Linked DNA regions of Homo sapiens: regions 2 and 3 are each linked to region 1. Evidence: promoter capture Hi-C in human tissues and cell types (Jung and others, 2019). All regions are on one chromosome and are shown on one strand. Each heading gives the region's core, a stretch centred on a gene start or on the middle of the fragment in contact. The rest is flanking DNA. Distances are from core to core; before and after follow the strand shown. Region 1 holds the start of PDF (peptide deformylase, mitochondrial). Region 2 overlaps UTP4 (UTP4 small subunit processome component). Region 3 has its middle 9.5 kb from the start of SNTB2.

Region 1 (3,138 bases), core at 209-2,708:
TGCCCACCCGCTCGCCTGCCACACCACCTGTTCTCCATTGGGGTCCAGCCCTGCAAAGGAAGTTACAGCCCTGGTGAGTGGGAACAGCTGAACTGCATCATCCTCAACCTCCCTACCCCTGCCCCCGGTCCTGGCTGTTCCCATTGACAAGAGGCAACAGCAGATGGCAAATGTAGACAGCAGCTCCTCTTCTAACTGGAAAACGTCCCTCATCTCGGTCCATTACCAAGCGTTCAACCTGGTTCCCAACTCTGGTAATTAGGTTATCGAGCTCACTGTAGAGCTGAGATGAGAAATCATCTTTCTACGGTGCGACCCTTCCGAACACTCCTCCCACTTCTGAGGTACCTGTGGGCTCCCAACTCCTAACAGAGGTTCTGCAGCTTGAGACCCCACTTGTTTTTCTGACCATCTTGAACCGACGGGCTTGCTGTGCAGGAACAATCACCCCGACCCCAGCAGAGCCCGCATTCCGCGAGGCATCCTGTGGTACCACGGGGGAATGGCCTAGCCCCCTGGGCTGGGTCAGGCTGGCGGGGGCTAACCCCCACTTCTCCAACTCCACCGTGGCGGATCTAACTGGGGCCGAAGAGCGTGTTTGCCTCAGAGAGCAAGGGAGCAGAAAGCAGACGCCAGGCTGTCAGGTAACAGCGGAACTAGGGGACCTCTCCTCGCCCCTGCGTCCTATCTGAGCGGGCTCTACCCCACAGGAGCTTCTATCCGTCCTGAGGCCTCTCCGCTCCCGCATCCCACTTCGCTCCTGCGGGAGGTCCGGCGTATGAACCGCGACCACTTCTGCGCTCTCGCGGAGTCGGGCAGAAGAGACGCGCGCGCTGCTCCAGCAGCCCCGGTCCCCGCCGCCCGCACCTGAGATCTGCACCGCCTGGAAGCGGGGCACGCAGGCCAGGAAGCCGGCGACGCTCTCGCAGCCCTCGGGAAAGGTGACCAGGCGGCTGTCAAGCACTCGCAGGCTGGGGTTCACGAACACGCGCAGGGGGAAGGGCTCCATTTGGCGGAGCGCGCGCTGGCGGGGCGGGCACTCCCGACACAGCGCCTCGGGGAGCTCCAGCGCCAGCACCTGCCGCGGCACCCCCAGCTGCGGCGCGCTTAGGCCCACGCAGCGCCGCCGCCGCATCACCTGGACCAGCCGTTGCGTCAGCCGCTGCAGCTCGGGCCCGCCTAGCTGCGCCCGCTCCACCGGGGCCGCCACGCCGCGCAGCACCGGGTCCCCGACTTGGCACACGTGCGAGAACGGCGGTTCGGGAGGACCCAGCACCAGACGCCTCAGGTGGCGCCAATAGGAGCGCCGCAGCGCCGGGCCCTCGACGCCGTCCGGGGCGGCCGTGGAGCTGCAAGCCCGGACACCGACGGCTGCCGCCCCGCCCCACGGCACGGCCGCCCACAGTGGCCAAAGACTCAGCGCGCCCCACAGCCGGGCCATGGCGGCCCCCTTAACAGTGACCCGGCCCGCCCCTTCCGGCCGCAGCGCGGGGCACGCCGGGAAGCGCCGTCGGCCAGCACACAGCGAAGCCGCGACTGGATCCCCGCCTTCCTGCTTAGACTGGCAGTGAGCACCGCCCCCTTCCGCTCTCCTCCCGGGAGCGCCTTCCCGCCTCCCGAACCCGCCCCGGACCTTCCAGGGCGAGGCAGTCCTGGCCACCCCGCGCCGGGAACCTCACGCACCGCGTTCTGGAGGCAGGGGACGCCGGCTAGGGCCCCACGCTGGGCGGTTCGGCCTGCGTCTCCGCTCGCCCTCCCTCCGGGCAGGCTGGGCCCGCGGGCTCCAGGCGTGGCTCCTCGGCGGGAGGCTCTGGTGCTGGAGCTGTGAGCTCGGGCCCCAGCGCCTGGTCATCCAGGGTGAAAAGCGTCTCTCTCTTTGGCAGGATAAAGGCGAGGGGCTCCTGAATGGCGCCGATGTTCACATGCCCTAGGTTACCGTACTTGGAGAGCTGAGTGGGAGGAATGCCTAACCCAGACGTGGGGAAAGCAAAATGGAAAACAGTTACTAATAAAACTCAATATAGAAATTTAAGGGAGGCCGGGCGCGGTGGCTCACGCCTGTAATCCCAGCACTTTGGGAGGCCGGGGAGGGGGGGGCGGATCACCTGAGGTCAGGAATTCGAGACCAGCCTGACCCACACGGAGAAATCCCATCTCTCTTAAAAATACAACATTAGCCGGGCTTGGTGGCGCAGGCCTGTAATCCCAGCTACTTGGGAAGGCTAAGGCAGGAGAATCGCTTGAACCTAGGAGGTGGAGATTGCAGTTAGCCGAGATCGCGCCATTGCACTCCAGCCTGGGCCACAAGAGCAAAACTCCGTCTCAAAAAAAAAAAAAAAAAAAAAAAAGGAAATTTAAGGGAAAAAAAACGAGCCATTACTATTTTTTTTTTTGAGACAGTCTCGCTCTGTCGCCCAGGCTGGAGTGCAGTGGCGTGATTGCTGCTCACTGCAACCTCTGCCTCCCAGGTTCAAACAGTTCTCATGCCTCAGCCTCCGTGGTAGCTGGGATTACAGGCGCCCGCCACCATGCCAGGCTAATTTTTGTATTTTTAGTAGAGACGGAGTTACTATGTTGGCCAGGCTGGTCTCAAACTCCCAACCTCAGGTGATCCATCCGCCTCGGCCTCCCAAAGTGCTGGGATTACAGGCATGAGCCACTGCGCCCAGCCATCAATTACTATGTTTTAATACAGCAAAAACCACCTTTGTTACAGGGAATGGGAAGCTATACTGTGAAGCAGAACGTAACGGAACAGCAGTGTAGGGTGCCTGCAGCAGGAACCCAGACCTCAGGCAGCACCAGGGAAAAAGCAGAGGGCAGCCAGGCTTTGCACGTGTGATGCACTGACCCATTGCCCTTTGGGAAGCTGTGCCTCAACCAAGCCCCTCTCCTACCACAAAGGGACAAGGACGTGAAAGTGAATTGGAAAAAAGACTTTAGGACGGGCGTGGTGGCTCACGCCTGTAATCCGAGCACTTTGGGAGGCCGAGGTGGGCGGATCACAGGTCAAGAGATAGAGACCATCCTGGCCAACATGGTGAAACCCCGTCTCTACTAAAACACAAAAATTAGCTGGGCGTGGTGGTGCGAGTCTGTAGTCCCAGCTACTCGGGAGGCTGAGGCAGGAGAATTGCT
Region 2 (3,138 bases), core at 370-2,869, 180 kb before region 1:
TATTACAAGTGTGAGCCACCACGCTCAGCTTTGTGGTCCTTTTTTTTTCTTTTTTTTTTTTTTTGAGACTGAGTCTCTCTCTGTCGCCCAGGCTGGAGTGCAGTGGTGCGACTCCACTCACTGCAAGCTCCGCCTCCCAGGTTCATGCCATTCTCCTGCCTCAGCCTTCCGAGTGGCTGGGACTACAGGTGCCCACCACCACGCCCGGCTAATTTTTTTATTTTTAGTAGAGGTGGGGTTTCACTGTGTTAACCAGGATGGTCTTGATCTCCTGACTTCGTGATACGCCCGCCTCGGCCTCCCAAAGTGCTGGGCTTACAGGCGTGAGCCACTGTGCCCAGCCCCTGCCTTTTTTTTTTTTTTAACCATCTGGGACATGGAGATATTGTAGGACTTTCTGTAGCTACCTTCTTCATTCCTTCTGTTTTTGAGGCAAGCCACTGCAAAGACATTTATGGGGGCAGGAGATATGCAGCAGCACACCTAGTTCAGTTTCTGGGGAAATTTTTCCCTTTTCCAAATAGTTGTGGGTTATGGGAATTTTGTTAGTTTGTCTTTCAGGGTAGGCTCTATTCTGGGTGGGAGCGGGAAAACCCAGGCTTCCAGTGTTCTAGGTAAATGGTACCATCTTCCCAAGCTAGAAAACTTGCTCCCCACACCTGCTGCCCCATTCATTCAAGCAGTAAACCTCATTGAGTCTACTCATCAGTATCTTTATACATATGTTATAGATATAGATAGATAGATAGATAGATCAACAGCTCTATTGAGGCATACTTGATATATTAAAAATCATACATATTTAATGCATATGGTTTGATGAGGTTGAACATAGTCCTCATAATCTCTTGAATCGAGTCATTCATTTCTCTTTGTCTACGCTGGCATCATCCTAGTTTGGATCAGTGTCTTTTCTCATCTGGGTTCCTTTACAGTAGCTTCTTAATCATGTCCTTTTATTTGCATTTGTGTCATTCTAGCCTATTCTTCATTGATCTTATTTTATTTTATTTGTTTTTGTTTTTTTGAGACAAGGTCTTGCTCCGTCACCCAGGCTGCACTGCAGTGGTGTAATCTTGGCTCACTGTAACCTCTGCTTCTTGAGCTCAAGCAGTCCTCCCACATCAGCCTCCCGAGTTGCTGGAGCTGCAGGCATGCGCCACCAGGCTCAGCTAATTTCTGTTTTTCTTTTTTTTTTTTTTTTTTTTTTGAGACAGAGCTTTGCTCTTGTTGCCCAGGCTGGAGTGTAGTAGTGAAATCTCGGCTCACTGCAACCTCAGTCTCCTGGGTTCAAGCGATTCTCCTGCCTCAGCCTCCCTAGTAGCTGGGATTACAGGCACCCGCCACCACGCCTAGGTAATTTTTTTTGTATTTTTAGTAGAGACAGGGTTTCACCATGTTGGCCAGGCTGGTCTTGAACTCCTGACCTCAGGTGATCCACCTGCCTTGGCCTCCCAAAGTGCTGGGATTACAGGCATGAGCCACTGTGCCCGGCCTCGGCTAATTTTTTTATTTTTTATTTTTTTTAATAGAGGCAAGATCTCACTATCTTGCCCAGGCCAGTCTCAAACTCCTGGTCTCAAGCAATCCTCGCACCTCAGCCTCTCGATTGCTGGCATTACAGGCATGAGCCACTGCTCCAGGCCCATTGATCTGTTTTAAAGCACCTTTGTTCATCACTCCATGCTTCAAAGCCTCTGGTTATCCCTGTTGGCTTCAGCATAAAGACAGTTTCCTTAGTGTGTCTTATAGAACCTGTCTCCATCCAGGCCTGGCCCTTCAGCTTCTTTTTGCACCTCTCGTGCTTGTAGCACCCCCACCCAGGCTAGCCATTCTCAAGGTCTTTTTGTTCCCTCAAATACTCTTACCTTTGAGCTATGTCACATGCCATCACCCTCCTCAGAATGTTCTGCCCTGCCTCCTTCGCCTGACTGGTCTTTCCCAGTGAACCTCATCTGGGCTTCTGTATTTACCACCACACAGCTAGGTTAGATGTCCTGTCTCCTTATTTTTCAGTACATACTGTGTTTAGCCGTGTTAAAATTCTTGGCACACTGAAGTCTAATTGCTGATTTAATTCTGTGTCACCCCTTTAGAAGCATGTTGAGAGCAGTAGCTATGTTTTAATTCATCATCGTCTTCATAGATCTCAGGGCAGTGCCTGGCATATGGGAGTACTTAGGAAATATTTATCAAGGAAATGGATTTCAGCAGTAAAAAATGTGCTAAGGTGGTGCTACTGTATCTGGTACTAAGGCAGTAGATGACCCTGACTTATTTTTTTAACTTCTTGATTCTTGGATATAGCGATGTCTCATCTCCTGTTCTAAAAAGAGGCAGCTTCTCCTCTTCCAGTTTGCTCATCACTTAGAACTTTGGCGACTGGGATCCACAGTTGCAACAGGTAAGATGGGAGCACGTTTTTTTCAATAAGAAAACTGGAGAGAGAAGCCAGAAATCAGAATTGCGGTTGGAATTCTGCTTATAGAAAAACTGAAGTAGACTTTTGTGTCCATTTTAACTAATGGTTTTCCCACCCATTAGATAAAGCAAATAAGCTGTTTAGAGTATTAGAATCTTTAGCAGGATATTGGATCATCTCTTAAAAGTTTATGGCTCTAGGTGGTGCGCTGCAGGGTGTAGTCAAGGTAAGGGTTGAAGAATCGTAGTTTGCGCTAGCTTAACTGAGGTGAAAACAGGCTGTTGAAAAACAACAAGATTTAATGATGGGTAATGATAATCCTGTAGAAAAAGAAGATCACATGGATCTTATTGGAGTGACAGCCTAGTGGCCTTTTTGACTTATTAAGGAAATGTTTGAGTCCTCTCATTTGCAGTGGATTAAAATCGAGGCCACACAAACTCCACCTGTGTCCCTGGCTATGGACTAGAGCTTCAGGGAATTAGTGATGTATCAGAGGATAGAAGCAAAAGAAGTACTCACTGCTTTCTCTTCATATACCCCTCAAAAATTGTGAGCTTACTCAGTGAGCTTGTATTTTTCTGATTTCCCACTGATAGAGATTCCATTTTTCCAAGGAGTAACTTTTTAGAAGAAAAATGTACAAATACTCTTTCTTTCATAAGAAAAATCTCAGGGAAGTTTCTTGTTTCAGGCAAGAATGGGGATACTCTTCC
Region 3 (3,138 bases), core at 410-2,909, 150 kb before region 1:
TATATGCAACTCACCAAAAACAGAAGAAAAATACAGCCTCAGCCCTCAAGAACTATACCGCCTAGAAGGGGAGAGAAGCAAGTAGATCAGTCATGCTACATGAGGTCAGGTACAGTGGCTCATGCCTGTAACCCCAGCACTTTGGGAGACCAAGGCAGGAGGATTCCTTGAACTTGAGACCAGCCTGGGCAACACAGTGAGACCCCATCTCTACGAAAACATTTTTTTAAAATTAGCCAGATGTGGTGGCACATGCCTGTGTTTCCTAGCTACTCGAGAGGCTGAGGTGGGAGACTTGCTTGAGCCTGGGAGGTTGAGGCTGCAGTGACCTGGGACCACACCATTGCATTCCAGCCTGAGAACAGAGCAAGACCCTGACACACAGACACACACACACACACACACACCACACACACAATAGAGTGGTTTCCACAGAAGGAAGCTAAGCAGTTTAGGAAAGTATGTGGAAAAGACAAGTTGTTTTGGATACAGAGTCCTTGAGCCAACATGTAGTGAGAAATAAGACCAGTTGGGGTGGGCCTTCCAGTCTGTGGTCCAGAATTTTCATTCAGTGGAAAACACAGCTGTGAGTCACTCACACATTCAATGGAATGACAGTAAAAATGCCCATTTGTGTAAGGGGCAGAAGAGACTGGAAGTTAGGGAGGCAAAAAACAGGCTGTTGTGTAGGTGACGGGGGGTCTATGTTAGGGCTGCCATAACAAAGCACTATTGGGATGGCTTCAACAACATAACTTCTTTTTTTTTTTTTGGAGACAGGGTCTGGCTCTGTTGCCCAGGCTGGATTGCAGTTGCTCAATCTTGACTCATTGCAGCCTTAACCCCTGGGCTCAAGCAATCCTCCGGCCTCAGCATCCTGAGTAGCTAGAACTACAGGTGTGCGCCACTACACCTGGCTAATTTTTTTTTTTAATAGCCCAAACTGTCATTTTTTCTTTTTCTTTCTTTTTTTTTTTTGGAATAGAGTCTCACTCTGATGCCCAGGCTGGAGTGCAGTGGCACGATCTCAGCTCACTGCAGCCTCTGCCTCTAGGGTTCAAGCACTTCTCCTGCCTCAGCCTCCCAAGTAGCTGGGGTAATAAGTGTGTGCTACCACATCCAGCTAATTTTTGTATTTTTAGTAGAGATGGGGTTTCACCATGTTGGTCAGGCTGGTCTCAAACTCCTGATCTCAAGTGATCCACCCGTCTCGGCCTCCCAAAGTGTTGGGATTACAGGCACGAGCCACCGCACCTGGCCTTTTTCTTTTTTTTTTTTTTTTTTAATCAAGGATCTATTTTTTTGTAGAGATGGGGTCTCACTATGTTGCCCAGGCTGGTCTAGAACTCCTGAACTCAAGCAATCCACCTGCCTTGGCCTCCCAAAGTGCTGGGATTATAGGCGTGAGCCACTGTGCCAGACCAGAAATTTATTTTCTCATAGTTCTGGAGGCTAAAGGTCTGAGATTGAGATCAAGGTGTCAGCAGGATTTTTTGTTTGTTTGTTTGTTTGTTTGTTTTTGGTGGTGGTGGTTGTTTTGAGACAGAGTCTCACTCTGTTGCCCAGGCTGGAGTGCAGTGGAGCAATCTTGGATCACTGCAACCTCCGCCTTCCAGGTTCAAGTGATTCTCCTACCTCAGCCTCCTGAGTAGCTGGGATTACAACCATGCAACACCATGCCCAGCTAATTTTTGTATTTTTAGTAGAGATGGAGTTTTACCATGTTGGCCAGGCTGGTCTTGAACTCTTGACCTCAAGTGATCTGCCAGCCTCAGCCTCCCAAAATGCTGAGATTACAGATGTGAGCCATCGTGCCTGGCCTTGTTTTTTAGCTTTTTGTTTTTTGGTAGAGACGAGGTCTTGCTATATTGCCCAGGCTGGTGTCGAACTCCTGGACTCAAGTGATCCTCCTGCCTCCTGATGTGCTGTGGTTACAGGCATGAGCCACCACGCCAGGCTGGATTGGTTTCTTCTGAGGCCTCTCTCCTTGCCTTGTAAATGACCATCTTCTCCCTTCATCTTCCCATGGTCTTCCCTCCATGCATGTATCTCTGCCCTCATCTCTTCTTATAAGGAAAACAGTCAAACTGGATTAGGGCCCACCCCAGTGACCTCATTTTAACTCAGTTACCTCTTTAAAGATTCAATCTCCAGGCTGGGTGTGGTGGCTCACACCTGTAATCCCAGCACTGTGGGAGGCCAAGGCAGCCGTATCGCCTGAGGTCAGGAATTCGAGACCAGCCTGGCCAACATGGTAAAACCCCGTCTCTACTAAAAATACAAAAATTAGCTGGGCATGATGGCAGGCATTTGTAATCTCAGCTACTCGGGAGGCTAAGGCAGGAGAATTGCTTGAACCCAGGAAGCGGAGGTTGCAGTGAGCCGAGATGGTGCCATTGCACTCCAGTCTGGGCAACAAGAGGGAAACTTCATCTCAAAAAAAAAAAAAAAGAGGCCGGGCACGGTAGCTCACGCCTGTAATCCCAGCACTTTGGGAGGCCAAGGCGGGCGCATCACGAGGTCAGGAGATCGAGACCATCCTGGCTAACACGATGAAACCCCGTCTCTACTAAAAATAAAAAAATTAGCCGGGCGTGGGGGCAGGTGCCTGTAGTCCCAGCTACTCGGGAGGCTGAGACAGGAGAATGGCATGAACCCAGGAGGCGGAGCTTGCAGTGAGCTGAGATCAGGCCGCTGCACTCCAGTCTGGGCGACACAGCGAGACTCCATCTCAAAAAAAAAAAAAAAAAAAAAAAAAAAAAAAAAAAGAACTGGTGAAGGGGGAAAGTAGACTTTTAATTTAATTTTTATTTTTTTATTTTTTTTGAGACAGTCTCGCTTTGTCACCCAGGCTTGAGTGCAGTGGCACGATCATGGCCCACTGCAACCTCCGCCTCCCGGGTTCAAGCGATTCTCCTGCCTCAGCTTCCCAAGTAGCTGGGATTACAGGTGCCTGCCACCATGGCTGGCTAATTTTTGTATTTTTAGTGGAGACAGGGTTTCACCACGTTGACCAGGCTGGTCTCGAACCCCTGACCTCAAATGATCCACCCACCTCGGCCTCCCAAAGTGCTAGGATTACAGGCGTGAGCCACCGTGCTGGGCTGACTTTTATTTTTAGATATTATTTGAATTTCA

The links. Contacts are between HindIII fragments. The study calls those that stand out against the background at their distance.
Region 2: a fragment that was not itself captured here is called in contact with the fragment with the promoter of PDF in region 1 in 2 of the 25 tissues and cell types used here (IMR-90 fibroblasts and lymphoblastoid cells).
Region 3: a contact is called between a fragment that was not itself captured here and the fragment with the promoter of PDF in region 1, in 1 of the 25 tissues and cell types used here (thymus).

What each region holds. Positions count from the first base shown.
Region 1 is chr16:69,329,130-69,332,267 of GRCh38, forward strand. PDF (peptide deformylase, mitochondrial) reads right to left here and starts at 1,459. Exons shown (of 2, transcript NM_022341.2): 1 at 868-1,459; 2 at 1-50. The coding sequence starts at 1,441. COG8 (component of oligomeric golgi complex 8) reads right to left here. Exons shown (of 6, transcript NM_032382.5): 5 at 1,684-1,966; 6 at 1-50. The coding sequence ends at 1,710. RefSeq lists enhancers at 825-1,472, 2,121-2,768 and silencers at 1,097-1,476, 1,507-1,896. The HindIII fragment of the contact is 3,727 bases long and covers 1-2,153 here.
Region 2 is chr16:69,151,277-69,154,414 of GRCh38, forward strand. UTP4 (UTP4 small subunit processome component) reads left to right here. Exons shown (of 17, transcript NM_032830.3): 9 at 2,308-2,404; 10 at 3,117-3,138. Among named protein-coding and RNA genes, the nearest start is that of UTP4, 20 kb to the left of the region's middle. The HindIII fragment of the contact is 8,255 bases long and covers 1-3,138 here.
Region 3 is chr16:69,176,062-69,179,199 of GRCh38, forward strand. No RefSeq gene overlaps it. Among named protein-coding and RNA genes, the nearest start is that of SNTB2, 9.5 kb to the right of the region's middle. The HindIII fragment of the contact is 6,249 bases long and covers 1-3,138 here.